Linked DNA regions of Homo sapiens: regions 1 and 2 are each linked to region 3. The links are contacts of gene promoters, found by promoter capture Hi-C in blood cells and fetal thymus (Javierre and others, 2016). All regions are on one chromosome and are shown on one strand. The core of a region is centred on a gene start or on the middle of the fragment in contact, and the rest is flanking DNA. Distances in the headings are between cores, read along the strand shown.

Region 1 (4,757 bases), core at 974-3,473, 190 kb before region 3:
GAGATGGGAGGGAGGCGCTGTCTGGGGCTATGTTAAGAACAGATAAGAAGTGACAGGAAGGTCTGGAACGGAGACCCATGGGGAGAATGGAGGGTCCTAGAGTCAGGCTGCCTGGGTTGAGTCCTGGCTCCCCTACTTATTAGCTGTGTGGCTTGAGGTGGGTTACTTAACTTCTTGGAGCCTCTGTTTCCTCTTTTGTAAAATGGGAATAACAACATTACCTGCCTCCCAAGGCCATTGAATGAGTTGAATGTAGGAAGTGTGATGTAAATATTAGCCATTGTTACGTGAGATGTTCAGGGGATAGAGTGACAGGCTCAACGTGTGGCTGAAGGAGGAGAAAAGAAGGATTTAGAGGCCCCTGTGAACTCCGGAGTCCCCATCCTTTCTGGGAGAAATGGGCAGTGCCTTCCTCTCTGCCCAACACTGACCAGCTGTCCACCCACCTCTCTAGGGCCAGAGGAAGCACTTGTGATCTTGATTACTACTCATGGACGCTGGGTAGAGGGCTAGCCTGGGCATGCTGGGAGAGGCCCTGGGCTAGCTTCAGCTCCTGTCATTTCCTTCACACCCATTCTCAGAGGAGTTGGGGGCGCCTCAGATGATGTCAGGTGATTTTCTTTTTCCTTTTCTCCCCAACTTCTTGGTCTCCTGCCTCCACCATGTGGCCCTGGGAGACCATCCCGACATTTCCTGCTGTTCTCTGGCTGCTGGGGCTCAGGCAGTAGCAAAGAAATGTCCCCGGCACTCCTGTGGGCACCATTCTAGGGCCACCGATGCCCAGACTGGGATGGGGAAGCCAGGGGCAACCACTCCTATTCCTGACAACAGCAATTGTTGCAGGATAATTTAGGAATCAGAGAGACCGAGGGGTTGAGGAGGATTTATTATTTAGATTCACTGGCTCAGTCAGGCTAACATTTCAAAAGACTGAGCCCTGAACAAAGAGTTAAGTTATCTTTTAAGCATTTCATGGGGCGGGGGTAGATCTGTGCAGGGGGAAGCATATTATAGAGGCAAGAAACAAAGACAGTTATTTAATTGAGACATGCATTATATTATTTTTTACTTTTTAAGGAAAAAAATTTTTACAGCTTGAGTTTATCTGTCTAGTGACCTTGCAGCTGCACAGCTGGAGAAACAGGGTCTTTACAATGCCTGGAAAAAGAGGAGCAATAAGGCTCACTAGCCACAAAAAAACAGGCAGTTAATTTTTAAGGGACTCCAGCTCTTTTTTTTTTTTTTTTCCAGGGAAAATTGTTTTTTTTTTTTTTAACATAGAACTGAGTTTTTGCTTACACGTTTTAAAATTTCTTTTAATTCCTGTTCTACAATAACAACAATGACCCTGCACACTCCCCGAGAGCATTCCTCAACTCTCTTGTTTAACCCAGACCCTGCCACAGAGCATGGCACTCAGCATTTGTTAAATGAGTAAATAAAAACTACCAAGGATGGGCCCACCACTGTGCTAAGTACTCAGCCAACATCTGCACATTTTTTCACATTGAATTCCTATAACCAGCCCATGATGTGAGTATTATCCCCATTTCACAGATGAGGCAACTGAGGCTCAGTTGCCCAAGGCCTCCTTGCTAGCCAGCAGCAGGTCCAGGCTTCCTACCTCAGTCTCTGCCGCCACAGAGCCCCGTTTCGCCATCCCCACCCACGCTATTATGCACCCACTGAGGGAGGCTTAGCTAAGAGATGTGGGGTAACAAACTGTGCTGTGAACCAGGAGGCCCAGGGGCTAACCTTACTTCCAGGGCACACGTGCTGTGTGACCTTGAGCAAGTCACAGACTCTCTGTAAGCTTCTGTTGCCTCGATGAAGACAGGGAGATGGATGGCCTGGTTTGCCCCATAATAATTTATCTGTCGTGTGTTCCTGGGGAATTTGCACTTGTACATGGCAAAGAACCCACAGCCATGAGACTGGCACTTCCCAGGGCTGCTGGGGTCTTCTCTCTCCAGCTACTCCCCTGGCAGTGGCTGCAGAGGCTGGAGCCTAGAGCCTGGGCCAAACACATGCTCCTGTGTCAGTAGAACTGGGTCATCCAGCATCTCCTGACCTGCCTCCAAAACCCCAGAAGGCCCCCCTCTTACCTGCAGATGTCAAGCTGAGTCAAGGTGCCCAGCACACACACGGCATGGGTGGGCTGCTCTGGGGTCACACGGATCAATGTCCCCTGGGCCATCGTCGGGCTAGCTCGTCCCTCTGGCTGTAGGAAGCCCCTGGGCTGGTTCCTTTATATCGCCCAGCAGAGGCCATGAGTCAGCACCTGCGGTCTGTGGCCCAGAGGCTCAACCCCTCCCCACTCAGGTCAGGGGTGTGGGCTCTCAAAATCTCCTCTGCCCTGGGGCTGCCCCTCGGACCTCTAGATGGGTGTCAATGCTGGTACCAGTGGCAGGGTGGCTCTGTCAGTTTCTTGGGAAGGATGGATGGCTCAGAAAGCCTGGGGTGGAGAGTGGGGCTGAGGGGTTGGGTCCTGGTCCTCATGCCCACAGTCCCATCCCTGCCTAGAGGCCCTGAACACCTTGATCTATCCAATCTCACCTATGTCAAACAGGCATATCAGAGAGGAGAAGGTGGGAAAAGCGGGGAGATTTTAGGTAAGCAGTCACAGGCCAGGCTACACGTTCAAAGACCAACCAGGCTTGGGACAAGTCTCTCCACCTGGGCCACCCACATGACAGCTCACATTCTCTATGCCAGGCACGTTTTCCTGCACTTCACATAGAATAGCTCATTACGACAAACCCGTGAACTAGATCATACCATTATCCCCTTATTTCACCCTCACAGCAGCCCTCTGAGGTTGGTGCCATTATTATACCCATTTTACAGAGGAGAAAACAGAGGTGCAGTTCTTCCACAGCTCGAGAGTGGTAGGGCCAGAATTGGAACCAAAGGTGTCCAGTTCCAGAGTGTGAGATTCATTAGCTGCCTGTCTATATGACACGTGCTTTCCAGACTGTATCACAGCTACATCTCGCTACAATACAAGGTGTATATGGGCTTATTATTACAACCCATTTTACAGAAGGAAAATTGAGGCTCAGAGAGTAAAAGTGACTAGCTCTTGCCCAAGGTGCCAGAGCTAGAATGCGGCAGAGCTGGGAAGAGAAGATGAGCTTCCTGGCATGGAAGTTGATGTTCTCTGCATGCTCCAGGATACCTGCCTCTTGCCAGGGCCTCTGGGTGTCAGACCAGACAGTGCAGGTGTGGGCCACGCCTGCCAGGGGGATGCCCATGTGGCCTCAGAGCTGTGGTTGCACCTGGGCCATTGGTGCCAGGCTCTGCCTTTAATGAGGCAACTGGGGGGTGGTGGATGGGTCCCAACAAGGAGCACTCAAAGGGTGCATGCATGGGAGTCTGGCGTGAACATAGAGCGTTTCGTGGGTTGGATATCTTGCGTTTGTTTTTTGTTTGCTTGCTTTGGCTTTGAAGCAAAGAATTTGCCTCATTAATTCAGAGTCAGGCTGTGGGATCAAACAGGCTTTAGTTCAAATCCTGCCTCATCTCAACATCCCTATGGAGTGCGTCCTATCAGGATGCCCATGTGTAGATGAGACCACAAAGACTTAGAGAGATTGAGTGAGACCCCCAAGGTCTCATAAGCCCTACAGTGGGGATCTGGATTCAGACCACCTTCTCTGGGCTCAAAATTTATCTTCTGTACCAGCAGATGATGATGTGGCCAGGTCCGACGTTCTGACGCATCTACATGACTGCCTGCACACAGTGTTAATAAACCCAATTTCTCTGGCTGACCGCATGATTAGAACTAGTTTGAGCTTCTACTGGGAAGTGGCAGGAGGGAGCTGTCCATTGTTAGAGTTGGGAGGGCCCTTAGAGAACACCCAATCCAGTCCTCGTTTTGCAGAAGGGGAGACTGAAGCACAGAAAGGGAGTGGGACCTGCCCACGGTCACACAGCAAATCAGAGGGAGGGCTGGCCTCTACCCCAAGTCTTAGGTCTCTTGAGGTTGTTTTCTTCTGTTCCTTCTTTTCTTTCTTATTTTCTTCAGCAGTTTGGGGTTTAAATTTGCTGTGAACGAGCCACAAAGAGGACGAGCCCCAAAGCAGTTTTGTTAATTCAACAAATACTGACTGAGTGCCTATTGATGGCCAGGCACTGTTCCAGGCACCGTGGATACGCTGTGAACAAAGTGGACAAAAATCCTGCCTTCATAGAGCCTTTTTGTTTGTTTGTTTTTGTTGGGAGAGAGACAGCCAGTAAGCAATAAATGCAGTAAGTGGATTCTATCGTATGTTAGTGGGGTAGAAAAAGGAAAAAGGACAGGGTAAAGGCTACCAGGAACACAGGGAGAAGGTTCCAAGTCAAGAGAACAGCCAGTGCAATCGGTACAAAGGCCCTGAGGCAGGGACATGCCTGGCGGGTTCAAGAAAGAGCAAAGAGGCCAGTGTGGCTGAAATGCAGTGAGGGAGGGGGAGAGCAGCCCAGGGCGGGGTGCGATCATATAGGGCCTTTCGGGCATCCTAAGAGCTTTGGCCTCTGCTCCAAGTAACGTGGGGAGCCTGGAGTCATTTTGAGCAGAGAAGGACCGCGAACCAACTTGCTTGAACGTGATCACTCTGGCTGTGATGTGAGAACAGACTGTAGGGGACCCGGGAGGAGGCCAGAAGACCTGTGAGGTGGCCGCTGCACACAGGCTGGTGACAGACGGTGGGGCTCAGGCTAGCGTGGTGGCAGTGGAGGAGGGGAGGATGGGTCAGGTTCTGGACATTTTGTGA
Region 2 (4,534 bases), core at 895-3,394, 240 kb before region 3:
GTGTTACCCAGGATGGTCTCGATCTCCTGACCTCGTGATCCGCCCGCCTCGGCCTCCCAAAGTGCTGGGATTACAGGCGTGAGCCACCGCGCCCGGCCTAAAATATATTTTTATAGTGTAATTTTTTTTTTGTTTTGAGACAGAGCCTTGCTCTGTCGCCCAGGCTGGAGTGCAGTAGTGCGATCTTGACTCACTGCAACCTCCACCTCCCGAGTTCAAGCGATTCTCCTGCCTCAGCCTCCCCAGTAGCTGGGATTACAGGTGCGCACCACTGCGCCCAGCTAATTTTTGTACTTTTAGTAAAGTCGGGGTTTCATCACGTTGGCCAGGCTGGTCTCAAACTCTTGACCTCAGGTGATCCACCCGCCTCAGCCTCCCAAAGTGCTAGGATTACAGGTGTGAGCCACCACACTTGGCCTAGTTTAATATTTTCTTGTTTTTTTTTTTTTTTTTGAGACTGAGTCTTGCTCTGTCACCCAGGCTAGAGTGCAGTGGCACATTCTTGGCTCACTGCAACCTCCACCTCCCGGGTTCGAGTGATTCTCCTGCCTCAGCCTCCCAAGTAGCTGGGATTACAGGCACCCGCCACCACGCCCGGCTAATTTTTGTATTTTTAGTAGAGACGGGGTTTCACCATCTTGGCCTAGCTGGCCTTGAACTCCTGAACTCGTGATCCACCCGCCTCGTCCTCCCAAAGTGCTAGGATTACAGGCATGAACCATCGCGCCCAGCCTAGTTTAGTGTATTTTAATAGCACACTTACAGGAACAGCACAGAAAACAGACAACATTAAAAATATCTACTTGCATGCAGGACAGACAGCTCAGAAAAGTATAGTGAATGGATGGAATCTACTGTGTGATAAAAATGCTACAAGTACCATTTAGTTGCTGTCAATAAGAAATGTCCTTGTTTTAAGCCAGGCGTGGTGGCTCATGCCTGTAACCCCAGCACTTTGGGAGGCCGAGGTGGGTGGATCACCAGGTCAGGAGTTCGAGACCAGCCTGGCCAGCATGGCAAAACCCCATCTCTACTAAAAATACAAAACATTAGCCAGGTGTGGTGGTGCACACCTGTAATCCCAGCTACTCGGAAGGCTGGGGCAGGAGAATCACTTGAACCCGGGATGCAGAGGCTGCAGAGAGTCGAGATCGCGCCATTGCACTCCAGCCTGGGCAATAGAGGAAAACTTCGTTTCAAAAGAAAAGAATGTCCAGAAAAATTTAACAGGTTTACTTATAATTATTATAAAGTTGAACCATGAAACTTGTTCACTGGAACATTTTGCCTTGCATTAACGCTAAATTATCTTATCTCCAAAGAGATCCCATCGAGAGAGGAAGAAACAGGTCAGCCCTCTCCTGATGCCACACAACATACTCAGATCTGAGGTGGAGCTCTCAGCCACAGAGGCATCTCAGCCCGGGGCCTGGCCCATGTCTGTGAGCTCTGCTGAGAGAGTAATATTTCATCTGTGCTCCAGCTATACCGAACCTCCCCGAGGTCCTCACACACATCGTGCTTTCTCCTGCCTCTGAGCCGCCCCACCCCCGTCCCTCTGCCTGTGGTATCTCTCTTCCTCTCATTTCCCTGCCCCGTTTGCCCAGCCAACCCCTACTTGCATGCTACTGCTTGGCCTCTGCCTCCTCCAAGAAGCCTTCCCTGAGCTCCATCCACTCAGACACCCCTCAAAGCCCCTGTGTTGGAGCTGTTCTTTTGACTCACTTCCCCCTGGCCTGTGAGCCCACAGGGCAGCAAGCTGTTCTGCCCTGTTCATGCAGTCTCCCTAGCACTTGGCACAGTGCCTGGCGCACAGTAGGTGCTCAGATGCTACCCTATTGCCTGGATGATTCCCTCCAGGCAACAGCGGACTATGGGAAGCAGGAAGGTGCACAGACAGGAGAACAAGGCAGGGCCGACTTACTCTTGATCCCTTCGAACAGCAGGGCCTCCCCGTGGCCCTCATTCTGCTGCTCCTGGAACAGTTTGTAGCAGGACCTGGGGCTGGCCAGGAGCAGCCGGAAGCCCTGGAGGCAGAAACACTGGGGTTAGAAGTCAGCTTTGCCCCTGGAGCTCCCAACGAGGGTGGATCTGCTGAGGGTGGGAGTAGTGTGGACTTGGACCCAAGCTGGCCACCTCCTCTACTGCCATCCTAAGGGTGAAGGAGAAATAGACAAGTAAAGTTGCTCCCACCCCAGGCAGAGGGTCTACCCAGGAAGGAGGCATGGCTTCCTGAGGCAGCCCCCAAGACTGTACCTTCCTGTCGGGTGCTGGCACAAAGCTCAGGAACTCGTCCACGTGGCCCACGGACAGCCAGTCAGAATAGAGCTTCACAGGGGCCTGCACCTGCTGGGCACTGAGGAAGTCCTGCAGGGCCTGGTGCATCTGCCGGCTGTCATTGCTGTCATGGCAGGGTTAAAGGGGTGTTATCGGCAGCAAGGGCTACAGGGAAGTCCCTGAAGGACAAGGGGCTTGGCAAAAAGGTCAGGGTTCTCCTTCAGCTGAGAAAGGGATGCAGGAGTCTAGAATGCCTTTATTTTATCCCCTAACATTTGAGAAATCAAGGAATTGTCATTCTAGTTTTATTGGGGGAAACTGAGGCACAGAGTCACTAAGGTAAGTAGAACAGAGCTTAGCCTCAGAAAGCACTGCCTCTTGAGTTAGATGAGATGCTGGTATTCTGGGTACACATGGGGCTTAGAGCCAGTCTGACCTAAGTCGGTGATCTCTTGTTAGCCATGTGGCCTTGGGGACATTCCTTCACCTGTTTGAGCCTCAGTTTTCTCCTAAAAAAAAAAATTAGTGTTGCAGTGCCTTGTTCTTCCTCACTTTTTTTTTTTTTTTTGAGACAGAGTCTTGCTCTGTTGCCCAGGCTGGCACAATCTCGGCTCACTACAACCTCCGCCTCCCGGGATCAAGCGATTCTCTTGCCTCGGCCTCCCGAGTAGCTGGGATTACAGGCATGCATCACCAGGCCCAGCTAATTTTTGCATTAGTAGAGACGGGGTTTCGCCATGTTAGTCAGGCTGGTCTCGAACTCCTGACCTCAGGTAATCCACCTGCCTTGGCCTCCCAAAGTGCTGGGATTACAGGTGTGAGCCACTGTGCCCAGCCTCTTCTTGTTCAATAGGTTCTAGCCATCCTGGCCTTGCACGCAGGAGCTCATTCCTGCCTCAGGGCCTTTGCACATGCACTTTCATTTGCCAGGAACTCTCTGTCCCAGATCTCCAGGTGGCCCTGTCCCTTCTGTCATTAGGCCTCAGTTCAAAAGCCCCTTCCCCAGAGAGGACCTCCCTGGTCACCCTAACAGTTCCTATTCCTCCCGTGCCCCTCTCTTTTGTTTTTGTCATTTGAAGTTATCTTGTCTACTTTTCTATCATCTGTTTCCCTACTAGAGTAGTGGTAAGGACTTGTCTTTCTTGTCCACGGCTGCATTCCCAGCTCCCAGAACATTTTGGATGCTCAGTAAATATTCACTGACTGAAAGAGGGTAAGTGGCAGGGCTGGAATTGAACTTGGGTCTATGGGCTCCAAAGCCCGCATTCCTCACCCTGCGCTTGGATTCCTCTCACACTCCCTCAAGTCTGTTGGGCTGTCTAGAATCGGAAGCAGGAAGGCAAGGCTTCCACTCTGGCCTCTGCTTTTCTACGGCATACCTGGGTCCTGGCCACCCCTTCCTGTTACTCCCCTCCTTACCTGGGATAACAGCTGTCCCCGAAGAGAATCCTGCCCAGCGGGTATTCCTTGCCCCTGACTGTGACTGGGGGGCTCACTTCCAGGTTCCCAAAGGAGTCCAGTCCACTGATACCCCCTGTTTGGGGCCCTCGAGTTACATAGCCAAAATCTGGACCCTGAGATAGGAGAAGGGAGTGCCAAGAGTTAGAGGAATGAGGTCCCTGGTGAAGGGTCGGGGGGTCCAAGTTTAGAGATGAACTTGGGCACAGGAAGTAACTCAGTACCGTCTACAGCTGGCACATAGCAGGTGCTGTTATCACATGTGGAAGGTTAAAGGAATGTTGAGTTCATTCAATGGACAAGAAAAGGGACTAGCATTTGTTGGGTCCCTAAAGCGTGCCAGCTGCTTGGTAAACCTTAACTTGGGCATAAAACAAATCTGTAAAACATCATTTTTTTTCCCCTTAAGACAGAGTCCCACTCTGTTGCCCAGGTTGGAGGGCCGTGGCATGATCTCAGCCACTGCAACCTCCGCCCCTGGTTCAAGGAATACTCCTCAGCCTCCTGAGTAGCTGGGACTACAGGCACGCCCCACCACGCCCAGCTAATTTTTGTATTTTTTTTTTTTTTTAGTAGAGATGGGGTTTCACCATGTTGGCCAGTCTAGTCTCGGATTCCTGACCTCAAGTGATCCATCTGCCTCGACCTCCCAAAGTGCTGGGATTACAGGCATGAGCCCCCACGCCCAGCCACATTTATTCTCTTAAAATTCTGGAGGCCAGAAGTGTGAAATCAGTTCCACTGGGCTTAAGTCCAGGGATGGCAGAGCTGGTTCCTCCTGGAGGCCCTGAGGAAAGAA
Region 3 (4,684 bases), core at 987-3,486:
GCCCCCTGCCTCCACCCCAGTGGCCCTGCAAGCTCCTCCCTCTGCCACTCTTAGGAGCTCTGCAACCCAGAGTCAATTCCCCCACCTCCTCACAGCTCACTTTCTTCATCTGTAAAGTGGCGGAGTTACTGGGAGGGTTCAGTGATCTAACTCTAATACATGAAAAGAGCCGCTTGGAACAGTGCCTGACCCACAGAAAGAAAGCAGTAAGTGCCCGCTCTTACTCCAGCTCCCCTGGGTATTGCGGTCTGATGTTATCACTATCTTGCCCAGTGTCCTGTTATGAGCTGCCCGGGGTCTCCGTCAGTGGGGGGTACAGTGTCCTCCCCCACTCTGGCCCCAGTCTCCCCATGAGTCAAATGAAAGTTAGAGCCCCAGGAAGGTGAGAACCCTGGTGGGTGCCCGTTATCTGTCACACAGTAAGGGCTCCAAAGTCACTCGTGGCAGAGGGGTGCCCAGACACGAGCTCACCTCTGGGGGCGCCTCGAAGTCTCTCCAAGCTACACAAGTTTTGTCCCAGTTTGGCAGGTGGCCACCCGAGAGATTCCTCCTGATTGGAGGATGTGCTCAGCCGGGTGCCTGGAGTTCATCAGAAGTTACTGGCCTCGGCCGGGCGCTGTGGCTCACGCCTGTAATCCTAGCACTTTGGGAGGCCGAGGCAGGTAGATCACCTGAGATCAGGAGTTCAAAACCAGCCTGGCCAACATGGAGAAACCCCGTCTCTACTAAAAATACAAAATTAGCTGGGTGTGGTGGTGCCTGCCTGTAATCCCAGCTACTTGGGAGGCTGAGGCAGGAGAATCAATTAAACCTGGGAGGCGGAGGTTGCAATGAGCTGAGATGGCGCCATTGTACTCCAGCCTGGGTAACAAGAGGAAAACTCTGTCTCAAAAAAAAAAAAAAAAAACAGTTACTGGCCTCTCCCTGGGTCTGTGAGCTGTGCCTTTGGGGGACAAATGACCTCCTGGCTAAAACTCGGGCCTTCCCTCTTCCCCACTCACATTCCTCCCAAATCCCTGCCACTCAGAAGCAGCTGGGCTCTTCACCACCTCCTAATTTGGGCCGCCTCAGGGAGAAGGTTGGAGTCCAAGGGCTGGGTATATCAGCACTGGGCACTTGTGGGCCTCACCCCTCTTGTCTGGGGGCACCCGTTCCTGGAGCTCCATCTTCCATCAGCTCTAACTCCTTCCCAAACACACATCCCCTCCGCCCCACTCCTTCCCTCCCACGGCCTCTGCCCACCCCCCCTCAGTTTCTGTCCTCACCTACCAAAGACCACTTCCTCACACAGGGCTGATGTATGTGTCTGAACAGCACTCCCACTGGGTCCCAGGGGAAGGGCTGGGACATGGGAGGGGCTGGCCGAGGCCCACACTGATTGTCATCCTACATCTCAGCCTCTGTGAGACACACGATGACCTCTGGGTGGCACCCCCCTTCCCTTGGTGGCCCAGGCCAGAACCGGGGCCCTAATCCTTACCCCTCTCCTCTCCCTCCACCCACACATCCTATCAGTCACCAGGTGCCACCAAAATCCCAGTCCCTAAGCAGTGGCCGGGTCAGTCCCCACCTCTCCAGCTCTGGCCACAGCCAGGGGCTTCCTTGCCCCTCCCCAGCCCAGAATGACCCATTTCACGAGCACACCCGACCACGGCTCGCGGAGACAACCACTCCAGGCTCCCATCTCCCACCCTCCAATGCCTTGGCTTGGCGTCCTGGTCTCCCTCAGCTGCCGGGTTCCCCATCCCCACCGCTTCCCGTTTTCTCTATGGTGAGGTTCATCTGACTGTTGGGGGATGGGGGTACCGGGCTGCACCCGGCTTTGCACAGGCAGCTCCCTCTCCTCGCCTTTAATTTGCAAACGCCTCCTTTAAGAAGGTTCCAGGATCGTCTTCTCTGGGAAGGCTTCCTGGCCCCCAGGCTGGGTTAGGGCACCCTCTTTGTGTTCCCACATTTGCATTTTCAGCCCCACTGGGCTGGGGCGTCCGGAGGGGAGCTAGGGCCCTCCAACACCTGGGCGCCCACCGAAGGTTTGTCGAATGAAAGAATGACAATCCAACCATGGAAAGCACAAAACTGGTCCCTGATGACTTCGCCACGACCTCAGCGGGGCGGGACGAGTTAGGGGCGGGACCACGCTTGACGGACAGGCCCGCAGCCCACTGCGAGAGGACTGGGGCGGGCCGCCCCGCCCACCGGCCGCTGGATAAGGCTGCGCGCGGGGCCGTGGGGCGCAGGCTGCTGGAGAAGGCGCACCTGCTGCAGGTGCTCCCGGCCGCCCCGGACCAGCGAGCGCGGGCACTGCGGCGGGGAGGATGCTGCGCGAGCGGACCGTGCGGCTGCAGTACGGGAGCCGCGTGGAGGCGGTGTACGTGCTGGGCACCTACCTCTGGACCGATGTCTACAGGTGAGCCGGCCCACCGTGATGCCCGGGCCGAGATCTCGAGCCCAGAAATCCTGAGACGCGCTCAGACTCGGGGACGTGGACAGCCTTTGTCCAGCCCGAGTTGTCCCTCATCCCGAGCCCCCGAGCCCAGAAATCCTAAGAATCTCATCCAGAAACCTGACAACCCCCGAACCTTGTGTCCACCTTCCAGAAACCCTGAGACTCTCCCAGACCCCCTAACACAGCCTCAGCCCCAGCTCCCTCACAGACCCTCCCTTTCACCCGTAACCCTCCGTCTGGCCCTCTCCAGTTCTCCTCCCGGGGGACCTCACACCCCTTCAGCTTCCCTGCCGTCCTCTCCCCTTTCACTTCCCCTCCGCACCTCACTTCCCCTCGGACCCACCTCAACCCAGCCCCTCTCCTGCTTCCCACTCCCAGTTCAGCGGAGCTTCCGCGGAGACTTGCCGGGGACTGGGGCAGGACCCGAAGGGAGCTGCCCTGAGGCTGAATCCGGCCCTGGAGGTTACTCAGGCTCCGATTTCGCCCTGTGGGGGCTGCTGGTGGTTGCTTGTCCCCAGGCACTGGCCCTGAGCTCCGTGTCCCCAGATACCTTCCCCTGACTTCATTCTGAGACCACAGAGGGACAATATTCTACCCAGCTGACGACGGGGACTTGGGGTGTATAGCGGGGTACTTTGTTGGAAAAGGATCCTGATTCAGAGTTCTGCTCCCTCCCCTTCTCTCTGTCCAAGAACTTGGTAGAGTGCGGGATGTCCGAGACAGCTGAAGGTAGGGTAGGGCCCTACCACTCCCCCCGCAATCCCAGAAAGCAGCCAAGTCCAATGATCTGTCTCCCTGAGTAATGGGACGGGGCCTTGGAAAGGTGTGGCTGGTGTGAATGAAAGGGTGGGGTTATGCTGGGGTTTGATCTGCCCCCTCTATTCCAAGCATTTAAAACCTCCCCATTGCTAGGGTTGGAGGGGTCAGTGCTGGGGGCAGGGAGCATGCAGGACTCTGAGGTGGGACCCTGTGCTGACACCGGATGAGTCCCCTATCCTCTCTGCCTCAAGCTGAACTCACACGGAGGCACCATCGTGGTTTATGGCTCTCAAATCATCCTGACACCTGGAGCACCCTGCCTCTCCCAGGCCCCCACCAACCCATCATGTGTCTCCCCACACAGCCCTGGCAGCCCTCCCACCTGCCCAACCAGTCTCCTGCCACCGCTGCAGAGGCACTGGCCACGCTGATACCAACAAGCCCCAGGACTAGGGACCCACTCCATGCCTCTGTCCCTGGCCTCAACCTCTGCCTTCCCCTGGGCCTGGGCTTCAGTTGTCCCCCATGTAAACCTCAGAGGTGGACTGGGTGGTCTCTGAGAACAAGAACACAGCAGTGGAGGGTGGTCCAGGCTCTGGTGGGGTGCAAGAGCTCCCCTGCCTTCCCCACCCCCAGCCCTGAACTGGGCACCGCTAGGGAGTGGGCGCGGAGCCAGAGTGCTCAGGTCTCTAAGCCTCAGCTGTCACCATACCCACCTGTTTATTTGCTGGGGCATGGTTGGTGCCGCCTGAAAAGCTGGCATGATCCTCCCAGTCGGGGGTGGGGAGCAAAGGAGGGTTCCTGCTCAGGCGCCCTGCTATCGCTCTATCCTGGCAAAGAGAGGCCCAGCTGGGGTAGGGGCACAGAGTGGGGCAGATATGGACTCAGCCTCCCTCTAGCAGGGGGCAGCAGTGTGACGATTCCCCTTGTCCTGTCTCAACGACCACAAAGACCCTAACCCCCACCGGCACTTAAGGTTCTCCACCACCACAGAGAGGGGCAGTGCGCTCTAGACCAGTACTGTCCAGAAAAGTCCAGTTTGAACCACAACAAAACCACAATTGCATTTTAAATCTTCTAGTAGTCCACACTTTTTTAAAGTTAAAACAACAGGCATAATTTTAATAATATATTTTGTTTAACCCAATATTTTAGAATATTATCATTTCAACATGCAATCAATATAAAAATTATTAAGGAAATGGTTTACCTTCCTTTTTTCATGCTAAGTCTTTGTAATCCAGTGCACATTTTACACTTCAGCACATCTCAGCGTAGATTGAGTGCATCTCAGGTGCTCACTGGCCACCGTGAGCCAGTGACACCGGGACAGAACAGGTCTAGTGCAGAGTTTCTCAATCTCGCACTATTGCATTTTGGGCTCGATATTTCTTTGTTGTAGCGGGATGTTTAGTGGCATCCCTGACCTCTGTCCCCTAGATGCCAGTAGCAACCCCCAAATTGTGACAACCAAAAATG

Evidence for each region. The method cuts DNA at HindIII sites, captures the fragments that hold promoters and counts their contacts. A CHiCAGO score of 5 or more calls a contact.
Region 1: a contact is called between the fragment with the promoter of PADI4 here and the fragment with the promoter of PADI2 in region 3, in 7 of 17 cell types (neutrophils, monocytes, megakaryocytes and 4 more). The highest score is 16.2, in neutrophils.
Region 2: a fragment that was not itself captured here is called in contact with the fragment with the promoter of PADI2 in region 3 in 7 of 17 cell types (neutrophils, megakaryocytes, erythroblasts and 4 more); the score reaches 15.7 in neutrophils.

Annotation. Positions count from the first base shown.
Region 1 is chr1:17,305,663-17,310,419 of GRCh38, reverse strand. It overlaps PADI4 (peptidyl arginine deiminase 4), which reads right to left and starts at 2,223. Exons shown (of 16, transcript NM_012387.3): 1 at 2,106-2,223. The coding sequence starts at 2,197. The HindIII fragment of the contact is 10,543 bases long and covers 1,816-4,757 here.
Region 2 is chr1:17,353,850-17,358,383 of GRCh38, reverse strand. PADI4 (peptidyl arginine deiminase 4) reads right to left here. Exons shown (of 16, transcript NM_012387.3): 11 at 3,697-3,851; 12 at 2,257-2,401; 13 at 1,925-2,027. Among named protein-coding and RNA genes, the nearest start is that of PADI6, 16 kb to the left of the region's middle. The HindIII fragment of the contact is 6,300 bases long and covers 1-4,534 here.
Region 3 is chr1:17,117,003-17,121,686 of GRCh38, reverse strand. It overlaps PADI2 (peptidyl arginine deiminase 2), which reads left to right and starts at 2,236. Exons shown (of 16, transcript NM_007365.3): 1 at 2,236-2,407. The coding sequence starts at 2,316. RefSeq lists an enhancer at 1,111-1,645 and a silencer at 2,217-2,426. The HindIII fragment of the contact is 8,283 bases long and covers 1-4,684 here.